3 separate regions of the Homo sapiens genome follow, and regions 1 and 3 are each linked to region 2. The links are contacts of gene promoters, found by promoter capture Hi-C in blood cells and fetal thymus (Javierre and others, 2016). All regions are on one chromosome and are shown on one strand. Each heading gives the region's core, a stretch centred on a gene start or on the middle of the fragment in contact. The rest is flanking DNA. Distances are from core to core; before and after follow the strand shown. Region 1 has its middle 23 kb from the start of CD300E. Region 2 holds the start of FDXR (ferredoxin reductase). Region 3 overlaps RAB37-AS1 (RAB37 antisense RNA 1).

What was found. Contacts are between HindIII fragments. The CHiCAGO score rates a contact against its expected background, and 5 or more counts as called.
Region 1: a contact is called between a fragment that was not itself captured here and the fragment with the promoter of FDXR in region 2, in 1 of 17 cell types (naive B cells). The highest score is 5.6, in naive B cells.
Region 3: a fragment that was not itself captured here is called in contact with the fragment with the promoter of FDXR in region 2 in 1 of 17 cell types (naive CD4 T cells); the score reaches 6.3 in naive CD4 T cells.

What each region holds. Positions count from the first base shown.
Region 1 is chr17:74,645,167-74,649,165 of GRCh38, reverse strand. No RefSeq gene overlaps it. Among named protein-coding and RNA genes, the nearest start is that of CD300E, 23 kb to the right of the region's middle. The HindIII fragment of the contact is 2,253 bases long and covers 1,440-3,692 here.
Region 2 is chr17:74,870,129-74,874,322 of GRCh38, reverse strand. FDXR (ferredoxin reductase) reads left to right here and starts at 1,329. Exons shown (of 12, transcript NM_024417.5): 1 at 1,329-1,457; 2 at 2,190-2,287. The coding sequence starts at 1,379. RefSeq lists enhancers at 1-179, 800-1,029, 985-1,279, 1,077-1,977 and silencers at 1,190-1,419, 1,460-1,589. The HindIII fragment of the contact is 12,318 bases long and covers 1-2,094 here.
Region 3 is chr17:74,669,303-74,673,593 of GRCh38, reverse strand. It overlaps RAB37-AS1 (RAB37 antisense RNA 1), which reads left to right. Exons shown (of 2, transcript XR_007065904.1): 2 at 1-3,534. It also overlaps a transcript of RAB37 not described here. Among named protein-coding and RNA genes, the nearest start is that of RAB37-AS1, 6.2 kb to the left of the region's middle. The HindIII fragment of the contact is 251 bases long and covers 1,471-1,721 here.

The DNA of each region.
Region 1 (3,999 bases), core at 1,317-3,816, 230 kb after region 2:
TGGGACTAGAATCCGGTCCTTCTAACATCTTGCCCAGCTTTTCCCCCATTCGTTGCCTCTCTTCACTCAAGTTTCCTTCTTGATTTTTCCTTCTTTAAACTCATCAATGCTCAAGGCCTAAGGGATAAAACTAATGCTACATTCCTCTTCCCTGATGTTCTGTATTCACTCATTTTCTAGGATTTGTCCTTAAAATTTGAGTTTTTATTTTGATAGATGGCGAATGGCAGGAAAGGAGGAGGAAGAGGGTGACGGAGAGGTGAGGAGAGAGGGCTAGGGGCTGCCTGCAACTTCAGCCTGGTGGCTTGGTTGCCTGGTGGCCCCAACGGTGGGTTCTTGGATCAAGTGTGGTGATGTTTTCTGGCTGCTGCTGGGTCAGATGGGAGCCAACTGTTCCCAGAGGCTAAAACCACAAACAGGACAGTCCATGGAGGCTCCGTGCCCCTTAGGGACCTAGAATCCTGACGGGTCTAGCTGAGGGCTCTTGGCATGGCTGGCCAGGAAGAGGGAACTTGTTTCTGATTCTCAGCAGGCAGAATCCTGTGGATGAAGTTATTCTGTCTCTATCGATATGAGCTCTGGAGCAGCTCAGCTCTGGAGCTGTGAAAGCCTGGCACACGCACACCCACCCTCGCTTCCCTCTCTCATCAGCCATCACTCTTCACTCAGTACTCAGTGGCTGTGATAGCCCAGGAGGCCCAAGCTCAGCCCCATCCTTCTCAACTCACTTTTCCAGGCACACCTCCAACTGATTGGAGGGGACAAAAGTACATTTTTCCATCCCTGGGAAATGCAACGTGCCAGGCACTATCACCCACTGGATGCTAGGTTTCAGCTTCAGGCGAGGCAGTGAGAACCCTCCTCAGCTGCTACCCTCCCCTGCCCTCCCCTCTCCCTCCTTCCCCATGGGATCTGTAGGGCCCGCAGCTCTGCATTGGCTTTGCTCAGACACACCAGCCTCAGGGTGCAGCTGCTATGCACTGGGGGACTGCACTGCCTCTCCTGTCACTGTGAGTCCTGGCATCTTAGTTCTCAAACATGCAGTTGAGTCAAGAAGAATGATGGCCATTCCTTCATCTCCTGACTTTTAGGATCTGGGCTAAGCTAGGACACAAACCAGGCTCAGAAATGAGGCTTTGGCTCCTGGCACCCACAGCTCTGGATTTGCAGGACAGATAAGACACGGAGCCTGCCCCGGAGCTCTTTCAGCCAGCTTCCCCACAGACAGCAGTTGGAGCTGCTGGGCCAGGCTTTGCTGGGTCCATTTAGCTTGGGGCATCTGAGAGGGGACGGTGGTGTCCTTTATCTCCAGGACTCCCACAGAGCCAGTGGACTCTGCAGCTGGGCTCTGGGTGCCTTGTGGCCGTCCTTGGGAGGTTGCCACTTGACCAAGGGAAGGAGATGGAGAGACAGCCTGAGATTTGGGGTGTGTAGAAGCTTCTCCCTCTGATTGCCCTGAATTTAGGTGAGATTTCAGTGGCATTGGAAATCTAAACTTAGGTTTGGAAAGGAGTTTCAGGCCAGGTGCGGTGGCTCATGCCTGTAACCCCAGCACTTTGGGAGGCCAAGGCAGGCTGATCACCTGAGGTCAGGAATTCGAGATCAGCTTGGCCAACATGGCAAAACTCCATCTCTACTAAACACACACACACACACACACACACACACACACACACATCAACTGGGCATGGTTGTGGGCACCTGTAATCCCAGCTACTTGGGAGGCTGAGGCAGGAGAATCGCTTGAACCTGGGAGGTGAAGATCGCAGTGAGCTGAGATTGCACCACTGCACTCCAGCCTGGGCGACAGAGTGAGACTCCGTCTCTGAAAAATAGAAAAGACTGGAGTTTCAGAGTGTGGTGGCCCTCCTGGGAGGACCCAGGGATGTGTGATTGTGCCATACAGTTTATGCATCTGGATAATAATAATAATACCTACTTTGTTTGACTTGCACGGGATTTAAGCAAAGTAATAACAGAAAGCATCTAAAGTGGTCTCTGAAACAAAGTAAACTCAGTAATTCTTAGCAATTATTATGTCTCTGGCCATGGCTGGCAGACCCTGGACCTGAACCTGGGTAGCAAATGTCACACTGCCCTGCTCTTGTTCTTTTTCTTTTTCTTTTGTGACAGAGTCTCTCTCTGTTGCTCAGGCTGGAGTGCAGTGGTGTGATCTTGGCTCACTGCAACTGCCACCTCACAGGTTCACGCGATTCTCCTGCCTCAGTCTCCTGAGTAGCTGGGACTACAGGTGCCTGCCACCATGCCCAGCTAATTTTTGTATTTTTAGTAGAGACAGGGTTTCACATATTGGCCAGGCTGGTCTCAAACTCCCGACCTTGTGATCCACCCACCTCGGCCTCCCAAAGTGCTGGGATTACAGGGGTGAGCCACTGCACCTGGCCCCTGCACTTCTTTAATATTGTGCCTGGAAGGTGCTGGGCATGGAGTGGATGTTGCATGACTGCTTCTTGCAGAGCCTCAAGAGAGCAGGGAAGGCTGGGCTTCCCAAGTAGACTTAAAGGATTGTGTGTTTGTGCTTTTGTTTTTGGGGTATTTGTTCATTCATTCATTCATTCATTCAAGAAAACTATATAGAGCATATATTGTGGGCACTGGATGTTGGAAATGCAATGGTGAGCAAAGAAGACCCATTTCTTGCCTTCTTGAGGCTTATAGCCCAGTAGGGGGAGACAGACATTAATCAAATGTGCACCAATAAATGTCCCATTACAACCACCATAGAAGAAGGAGGTGCTCTGGGAACTTCCATTAGGGGCATTGATTCAACTGGGCTCCAGCGATGTCTCACCCCATCCACTTCCCCCACATGGCCTAGCCCACCGTTGTCTCACACCTGGAAGGCTACAATTGCTTATTCATGTCTCCCAGTTTCCTGCCTTACCTCTGTCAATTGTTTTTTCCTCGCAGCAGCCCGTGTGATCCTTTTAAAGTAAGCCAGGTCACGTAATTCTCCAATGGCTCCCTGCATCATTCAGAGTCAAATCCAACTCCCTATTAAGGCCTATGGGCCCTTAAATGATGACTCTGTTTCCTTTCTGATCTCGTCTCATTCCACTCTTGCCCTCATTCCCTCTTCCTGAGCCATGGTGGCCTCTGCTCCCACCCCAGGACTTTTGCACAGCAGCCCCCTCTACCTTGCACTCTTTTTTTTTTTTGAGATGGTGTCTCCTGTCACCCAGGCTGGAGTGCAGTGGCGCGATCTCGGCTCACTGCAGGCTCCGCCCCCTGGGGTTCACACCATTCTCTTGCCTCAGCCTCCCGAGTAGGTGGGACTACAGACGCCTGCCACCTTGCCCAGCTAATTTTTTGTATTTTTAGTAGAGACGGGGTTTCACCGTGTTAGCCAGGATGGTCTCGATCTCCTGACCTCGTGATCCGCCCACCTTGGCCTCCCAAAATGCTGGGATTACAGGCGTGAGCCACCGCACCCGGCCTACCTTGCACTCTTCACCTGCAGCTGTCAGTGTGGCTCCCACCCTTCTTTCAGGTCTCTGTTAAAATAAGATAACACTTTATCATAGATACCTTCTCTATAGATATTAATACAATAGCATTTGCCTCCCCTCACTCCCTCTACCCTTTTTGTCTTCGGGGCACTTATGACCACCTGGTACATTTTATATGTGTTTATTTTCTCCTCTCCCCCTCCCCCTAGGAGAATGTAAGCTTCCTGAGGACAGAAGCTTGATTTGTTTGTTGCTGCATTCCAGCACCTAGCACGGTATTTGGCATGTAGTAGGTGTCCAGTAAATATTTGTTGAGTTGAATGAATGATAATTTATTTGAGATTTGGAGGAAGAGTATGAGTTAACCAAGCAAAGAGAGGAAAGGAGCATTTTAGGCCCAGGAAACAGTGTGTGAACAGTCACTGTAATCAAGGGAATGTGTTCTGTCTGAGGAACCAAAATCTTTGTGGTTGCCCCTTGGGGATTAAGTGGGAGGTTATTATGGCTTGAGGCTTGGGAGGTCAGCAGG
Region 2 (4,194 bases), core at 80-2,579:
TATAGTTTGCCTACTCCTGGTCTAGTGGGACAGGCATAAAACACAGTGACCTATTAGAAAGCAGACAGCATTTACTTACCAGTGGGAGGGAGGGGAAGTGACCAGTAAGGGCACAGAGGACTCCTGGGATACTGGCCATGTTTTATTTCTTGATCTGGGTGGTGGTTATATGGTTACACCTTGTGATATATTGTCAAGTTGTACACTCATGATTTGTGCACTTTTCTGTATGTTATTATTGAATTTAAAATCTCATTAAAAACGACAACCAGTGTAGTAAGTCATGATGGGATAAGGTCAGATGCTGTGGAATGAGAGGCCTTTAACTCCTTGGAACTTGGGAGGGGACGGGTCAGAGAAAAGGCTTCTCCAAGGAAGTAATATTTGACAAGAGGGCCCATGGGGAAAAGGAAGAGGGGTTAGGCTTATTGGGTCAGCTGTGACTACGGATCCTGTCCTTATTTTTAAAAACATTTTGATCATAGACTTTTTGCATTACTTTTGACCTTTTAAAACGTTGCAGTATTATATTTATCTTGATTACTGAGTGTTTTGGAGCCCCCTTAAATTCTGAACCCGAGGGGAGTACCTCAACTCTGGTCCCGGCTCGGCTGCACGGGGGTCGGACGCTCTGTCCTTAGTACCATACGTAAGCCACTGCCCCGCCCCGCTTTTCTTCACCTATGTAATGGGAAAGGAGGTGAGGTGGGACGAGCTTTCCAGGGTTTAATATTCTCCCTGGCCCGGCAAAGACGGGGATTTGAGGGGTTACATCGGCACAACACCCGGGGTCGAAGAAGGAGGCTGCTGGGCTCCGGGAAGGAGCTCCCTCGCCCCAGACTTCCGCACTCTGGTTATTTCCCAACGGCGGGAAGGCTCGCTTGGAGCCGGACTCGTGATTGGCTAGGACGAAGTCACGTGGGAGGATTCGCAATCAAATGGCAAGGGCGTCTGCGTCATCAGTGAGCGACGAGAGCCTCCCGAGAGGGGCGCGGCTAAGTAAAATAAGCTCCTTTCTTAGTGGCTGTTTCCTTGGGGAGGGACTGAAACAGCGATGGGGATTCGCTCTCTTCCAACCCTAGGCTTCCGGGATTTGGAGGGAAGGTGAGGCCTGGGGAGAAATGTATTAAATCGCGTATACCCCGGATGCTCCGAGGGGCGGGGCTTCGACGGTGGGGCGTAGTTAAGGGCGGGTCTCTCTTTTGGGGGCGGGATTCTCTCGGGAGTCGGGGTGGAGCCGCAAGGCTCCGCTTTCCCGGAGCGCAGGGGGCGGGGTTTGGGGCGGGGCCTCGCTTGTGGGCGGGCCCGGGCAGGAGCGGGCTTGCCCTGCGGAGCAGTAGCTAGGAACAGATCCACTTGCAGGTTGCTGCTCCCAGCCATGGCTTCGCGCTGCTGGCGCTGGTGGGGCTGGTCGGCGTGGCCTCGGACCCGGCTGCCTCCCGCCGGGAGCACCCCGAGTAGGAGCAGGGCGCCTTTGGGGCTGGATGGGAGCGCGGGGAGGCCTGCGAGCGCTGAGTAGGGGTCGGAGCAGAGCTGGGGCAGGGCTGGAGAAGGGTGAGACTGAAGGGGTGTCTTCCTGCTGGCGAGATCCCGGTGGTGTACGGGGGTGGGCGGAGATCTGTGCGTGAGATGTGAGGCTTCTAGGGTTAGAGACGGAGGTCAACAAAGGTGAAAAGGAGAGACTTTGAGATCTACAGGTGTGAGACGGGGTGAATGGAGGATGATACGGAGGTCTGTGGGGCGAGAGGAAAGTCTGAGTCGAAACAGGGATCTGTAGGAATAAGACGGGTCTATATGGGCAATATAGCGTTTTGTGGAGAGAGAGAGGGGTTAGAGGAGGGACACCGTGGGGAGACCCACGGGGGCGAGATTGGGATGATATGGAGGCCGTTGGAAGGATGTGGGATTCTAGCCGATTGGATAGGGAATGAAGTGTTGTTGGGCAGGCCATTGGCAGTGGTGTAGTAGGTTCATGGGTGAGATGTGGGCTCTGGATGAACCCACAGCCTTTGGGGGTTCAGATGAAGTAAGAGACCCTGCAAATGCCAAAGCCTTGAGGAACAAGAGAAGGAGGATGCAGGTGAGGGTGAAGCTTGGGAAGTTCCAGCTTCTGTTGGATATTCAGGTTGGTTTGGGACTGGGGAGAGAAGTTAATTTTGACCTTTTCCCTCTCCTCTGCCTGGCCCCAGGCTTCTGCCACCATTTCTCCACACAGGAGAAGACCCCCCAGATCTGTGTGGTGGGCAGTGGCCCAGCTGGCTTCTACACGGCCCAACACCTGCTAAAGGTAAGCCACTTACTCATAGTCCATCATTCACCTGCTGCTCCAGTCCTAAGGGCAAGCCTCACCCGCTTTGGGTTTTAAGAGCACTCCTGGTTGCCTTATGGGGAAGGGGCTCCCAGCCATCTGGCCTGGACACTTCCCACTTGCTTCCTCACCTACACCTGAGGCTCCCCTCCCCTCCCGTCCTCAGTGTGACAGGGGTGTAAAACGCACATTGGTGGTGAGTGGTCAGTGGCAGGTGGTCAGCTTTGCCTCCCTGGCCAAGCACTCCAGGGGGCTTATGTAGACCTGCAAAATGACTTTGTCCTCCTTCATCTTCCCTCCTCTCTCGTCTATCTTCACTCTATCCCAAACATCCTACATCTCGAGGCTACCCACCTCCTCCGCTTTCTGTAACTTTACCTGCCTTGCCATGCCCTCCTCACCCATAGCTCCAGTCCTCCGTGCCATTCTGTTCTTTCAGCCTGCCCTCTGCCCCTCCCCCTTCCCCTGTGAAGGCCAGGATCTCAAGGCTTTCAGTGTCTGCCTCGGCAGGAAGGGCCCCAAGCCAAGGCTACAGGTTCTACTTGAGACTCCACATCAGACTTTGGGACAGAGTAGAGAGGGGATACCCAGGTTAACTGAGACGTGAGACAGTTGCCTAGCTTTGGAGAGGCTTGGAGTGTCCGTGGAGAGACAAGAGAAAGGATGAATATCTTAATTATACACACACACACAGATGCTTGAAATGTAGGGTGACCAACTGGCCTGGACTGCCCAGGACAAGGGGCTTCAGCGCTAAGCTGGAAGTTCTTGGGAAACTGGGATGAGTTGATCACTCTGCTGAAAAGTGACCCGTGCATGCTTCCCAGGCAACACGGGTGAAAGAGCTAATTACAATAATGTGGGCAGCGTGAGCCGAGGCAGGTGGGGTCAATCAGAAACTGTTTCCTGGGCCGGAAGCCCAGGTGGCTCATGTCTGTAATCCCAGCACTTTGGGAGGCCAAGGCAGGTGGATCACTTGAAGTCAGGAGTTTGAGACCAGCCTGGCCAACGTGGTGAAACCCCATCTCTACTAAAAATAGAAAAATCAGCCACGTGTGGTGGCACAGGTCTGTAGTCCCAGGTACTTGGGAGGCTGAGTCGGGAGGATCGCTTGAACCCAGGAGGTGGAGGTAGCACTGAGCCAAGATCAAATCACTGTACTCCAGCCTGGGCGACAGAGTGAGACCCTGTCTCAAAAAAAAAAAAAAAAAAAAAAAGAGAGACAGTGCATTTGAGCTGCCTTGAAGCAGACCAAGGGCTTTGGTGAGGGCCTCCCACATGTGGGGAGTCATCCTGGAATGCAAGGCCTTGGGCACGCTGCCATGTGGGAGGGAGGACAGCCTGGGCTCTGGGATGGAGATCAGGGAGCACATGGGGGCTGGAGAGGCCCTGAAGGGCTTTGTATAAGGGACAGTTTTTTTTTAGCTGATCCTGACATTTTGGAAGGGAGGAGAGTAAGCTTTCCAGGCAGTGTTCTTTTTTTTTTTTTTTTTTTTTTGAGATGGAGTCTGGCTCTGTCGCCCAGGCTGGAGTGCAGTGGCACAGTCTCAGCTCACTTCAACCTCCATCTCCCAAGTTCAAGCGATTCTCCTGCCTCAGCCTCCTGAGTAACTGGGATTACAGGCGCACTCCACCACATGCAGCTAATTTTTGTATTTTTGGTTGAGACAGGGTTTCACCATGTTGATCAGGCTGGTTTTGAACTCCTGACCTCAAGTGATCTGCCCACCTCGGCCTCCCAAAGTCCTGGGATTACAGGCGTGAGCCCCCGCGCCCGGCCAGGCAGTGTTCTTAGCACGACTGTATTCAGCTGGCAGACACGTGCACATGCTTTCCTTGTGGAATGGGATGGGGAGGGGCTCAGGCCAGGTACAATCCTTGTTCTG
Region 3 (4,291 bases), core at 347-2,846, 200 kb after region 2:
CACATCTGATCAATATTTTGAACAATCTGAGCTCCCAATCTTAAAGCTTTCAAAATGAGTATTTATACCTTTATAGGATGGTATAAACTTGGAGAGACCCACATATCTAGTTGCCAGGAAAATTTTGTAATTGATTTGTAATTATGTTCCTCTGCTTGCATAAACTTTTTTTTTCTTTTTTTTTTTGAGACAAGGTCTTGCTTTGTTGCCCAGGCTAGAGTGGAGTGCAGTGGTGTGATTTCGGTTCACTGCAGTCTCTGCCTCCCAGGCTCAAGCAATTCTCCTGCCTCAGCCTCCTGAGTAGCTGGGATCACAGGCGCACACCACCATGCCCAGCGAATTTTTGTATTTTTAGTAGAGACAGATTTTACCATGTTGGCCAGGCTGGTCTTGAACCCTTGACCTCAAGCGGTCCACCGCCTCGGCCTCCCAAAGTGCTGAGATTACAGGTGTGAGCCACCATGCCTGGCCTTGCATGCAGTTTTTACTGGGCTAAATTGACAACATCAAATAGCACAGAATTTCTTCTAGTTTACTTCAAACTGTGATGGCTTTAAAATTTCTAGACTGGGATAGTTGTTATACATTTTTTCTCCTTCTCTATATCCTAGGAATTCAGAGACCTGGAGGGAGAAGACACATGGACTGTCAGATCTAGAGACCTGCTTCCTTCAATAGCTGATTTTCTTTCATTTGTGTCAGAAACAGGCAGCATGGCACAGAGCCATGCACCTAAAACTTTATTGTGCATATTTATTCCTAGAGATCTTGTTAAAATGCAGATTCAGATTCAGCCAATCTAGGGTCAGGGCTTTCTATTGTAATAAGTTCCAAGGTAATGCCAATGCTGCTGGTCCATGGACTGCACACTTTGATGAGAAGTTTAGTAAGGATATAGAGGAAAGAATACTACACGTGTAGTAGTAATTTCTGGCTTTTAGTATCAGCTCTGCCATTTACCAGCTTGCTTTCTTGGACAAGTCATTTTTCCTCTCTGGATTTTAGTTTCCTCAAATATAAGCTGGGTGATAGAGGAGGAGGTTGGGTTAGGTTATTTCAAAGCTTGCATTCATAGACTCTTCAAAGTGATGTTTTGATTAAAAAACTCCACCTATAGGATCACGTACAGCTTTTCAAAGGACTAGCAGGTGAACTGGCATTATCAAAGCAGAAAATATAGGGGCTGGAGCAGGAAGGCATGGCAAAGTCAGAGAAAAGGAAGGTGAGCCATAATAACTTCTTATGGCAAATATAACACTTTGATTATTTCAGAGTGATGGATTTTGAATTAAAACTGTTATCCTGAGAGAGGCTACTATTTTTCCCAACAACTATCTTAGGGGGAGACCTGCATTACTGAAAACTGAGTTGCATAAGAAACTTGAGTGAAGGAAGCAATGGATATGTTAGTGCTTTGAAATAAGCAAATGCTTACAGGGGCTGTGAGGGAATCATGGCTGGAGGGAAGCTTTCTGGAGCCATGAGGGAGTCTGATTTGAAAACAGCAGTTCATCTCTGCTGCAGACCATTTATCTAATTTCAGACAAATTGGCCAGAAATTCAGGTATTTGGCCACTGCTAGCAGATGTAACAGGGAGAAATGCAGTCTCCTACAAGGGTTAGGAGAGCAAGGTGCCAGGGGTCACCCAGGGGCATAAATAGGCAAGGAGAAGGAGGGGGTGAAAAAGGAACACAGATGATGTAAGTGAATGAATGAAGCTTCTGACCATCTGAGCCTCTGGCGGCAGCCCTTCCCCAAGAGCTCACGCATCTCTGTTTTGAGCAGGAAACAGGATCAGACAGAAAGGGCTCCCCAGACTCACAGATACAAGCTAGTTTCTCATTAAGTCCCAAAGCAAAGTCAGGGGAGTGGAGAAAACTCCTGGTGCTGGCGCCTCTTCCAACGTTAGGTTGAGGAATACAGGAGATGTTTACCTTATGCAGGACGTGGTCGTTGAAGTCAGGGCCAGCTCCTCCCTGGTAGGAATCGGGTCTCTGCAGGTCCATGCCAGGCTTGGAGCTCGCCGCTCCGGCTCTCCCTGCGCTCTGCGTCAGCGCTTCCAGGAGCTCGGTTCGAGCTCCGCTGGGTGCGGCAGGCTTGGGTCTGAGCTCTGCGGGCCGGGCCGCATCCGTTTTCAGCACTGGACAGTTCCCCGCAGCGGCCGCGGCGCGGTACCAGGCGGGCAGGCGGCCACGTTCTTCCAGGACTGAGCGTTTCAGCACCAGGAACAGCGACTCCGCCGTTGTGCGCCCGGGACCAGAGTTCTGAGATCCTGTCCGCTCCAATCCCTGCCTCTTAGGACTCCAGGATGCTGGCAGGGACGCAAGATTTGGGTCCGGCTGGTGATCCCTGCGTATTTCATTCAGCTACCGGACTCCGGAGGCTCAGCACCCGGCTGCGTTCTCAGGGCATTGCGGTCCCAGGAGCTCACCGTTCCTGATCCCGAGCGAACGGGCATCTCCGTCACCACGCAGCTCAGCGCAGCGCAGCTCTCCTCACACGTTTGCAGAGGCGAAGTCCTGCGGCGCTGGCGGCGCTTCTGTTTTTGTCCCTGGACAATTCTCTCCAGGATGTATGAGATAAATAGAGCTTCTAAGTCTGAGGTCGACAGTAGATGGGTCTTAGGTGTCCCCAAAGTCCCTGAAATATGCAAAATTCTGTTTACCTGCGTTTTCCTAGGGAGAAGGTCCAGGGCTTTGATCACATTCTCTCCAGCACACATGACCGCAAGAAGTTAAGGACAATGGGCTCAGGAGAGGCAGATGGTGGTTTGGTTAGGAGCACAGGCTCCAGGATTCAAATCTCGATTCTGAAAATTATTAGTCGTGCAAACTCGGGCAAATTAATCTTTCCTAAGTGTCCACAAAATGGAGATAATATTATAATAGTACCTGCCTCATGGTTTTGTTCTGAGTATTTAATGAGTTAATTCATGTAAAAAGCCTAGAACAGTGCCCAGCGTGTACTAAGAACTCAATAAATGTGAGCTACTATGCTCTCCTGGCAGGGGATGAAGAGCTCTGGCTACTTCTCCTATACGTCAGGGGAGTCCTGCTGCTGCGACCTTTGATTGGCAAAATTGCATCATCACATGGAATATGAGAGCGTGAGGCTGACCACCATGGGAACTGGAGGCTGAGACTGTGGCCCCTGGGATTATTATCAGATTACTAAGGACAAGTCCTAGTACCAGCCACGGGCCCTTGGAGTCAATATCAACATGGAAGGAAAGAGCCAGGCTTAGGGTTAAAAGAGTGCGTTTTACTGCTGGGTTTCACTCCTTTTTGGCTGAGTTGTGTGAACCAGATCACTCGTGTTCCCTGGGATTACTTATGTTTTCTCATCTGCAAAATAGGTAGAGTAATCTATGCCCACTTTATTGGGTTTGGGGGAAGAGTGAGACAATGTACATGAAAAGTCTTTATTTTCTTTTAAATTGTAAAGTAAATTTCATTTATAAGGTGTTATTATTGCTGGAATCACTATACTGTAGATACTCAATGAACATTGATTAAATGAACAAAGCTAGGGAACCAATGTGTTTGTTTTATGAGATTCTCACTGGGCTGATTTTTTTTGTTTTTGTTTTTGTTTGTTTGTTTGTTTGTTTTCAGCCTGTGACAAATACATAACATCCAATGGTTGGGGTTCTTAATGTGAGGTGGATAAATGGATGTTAGGGGAACTTTGCAACATTGATAACATTACACAAAATTTTGCTTCTGTGACTTTTTCTGGGGGAGAGGCAATCTCCAGAAGAAGAAATGAATCCCATAGATTTTATTAAGTTCTCAAAGTTGTCTATACTCAAAAAAAGTACAGAACGGATAGCTTAGACTCGCTCATCTTAACTTTCTCCTGAGCTTCCTCACCAACCCTGACTATTATAGATAAGAAGATTCTAGAGGCTTTGCCTGGAACCTCACATTCCTTGGAAGGGTCACTCCTCAGAGTCTTGTTTGGAGTTCTGAAGCTTCAGAAACATGATTCTGTTTGTTCAGGTTTATAGAGCAAATAGCAGAGGATCTGAACCAATCCAGAATTGATGATGGAAGACTTTCATGAGAAATGATGTTTAAGCTGAGATCTGAAGGAAAAGTGGGCATTAGTCGAAGAGGGTGGTGGTGGTGGAGTGATTCCAGGCAAAGCGATCGATACATGCAGAGGCTTTAAGGTGTGAAGAGCTGAGAAAAGACCAGTGTGGCTAGAGTCCTGAGAAAGATGGGAGAAGGGTAACGGGAGACCAATCTAGAGATAGATAAGGACCAGATCATGTGGATCATGTTAAGA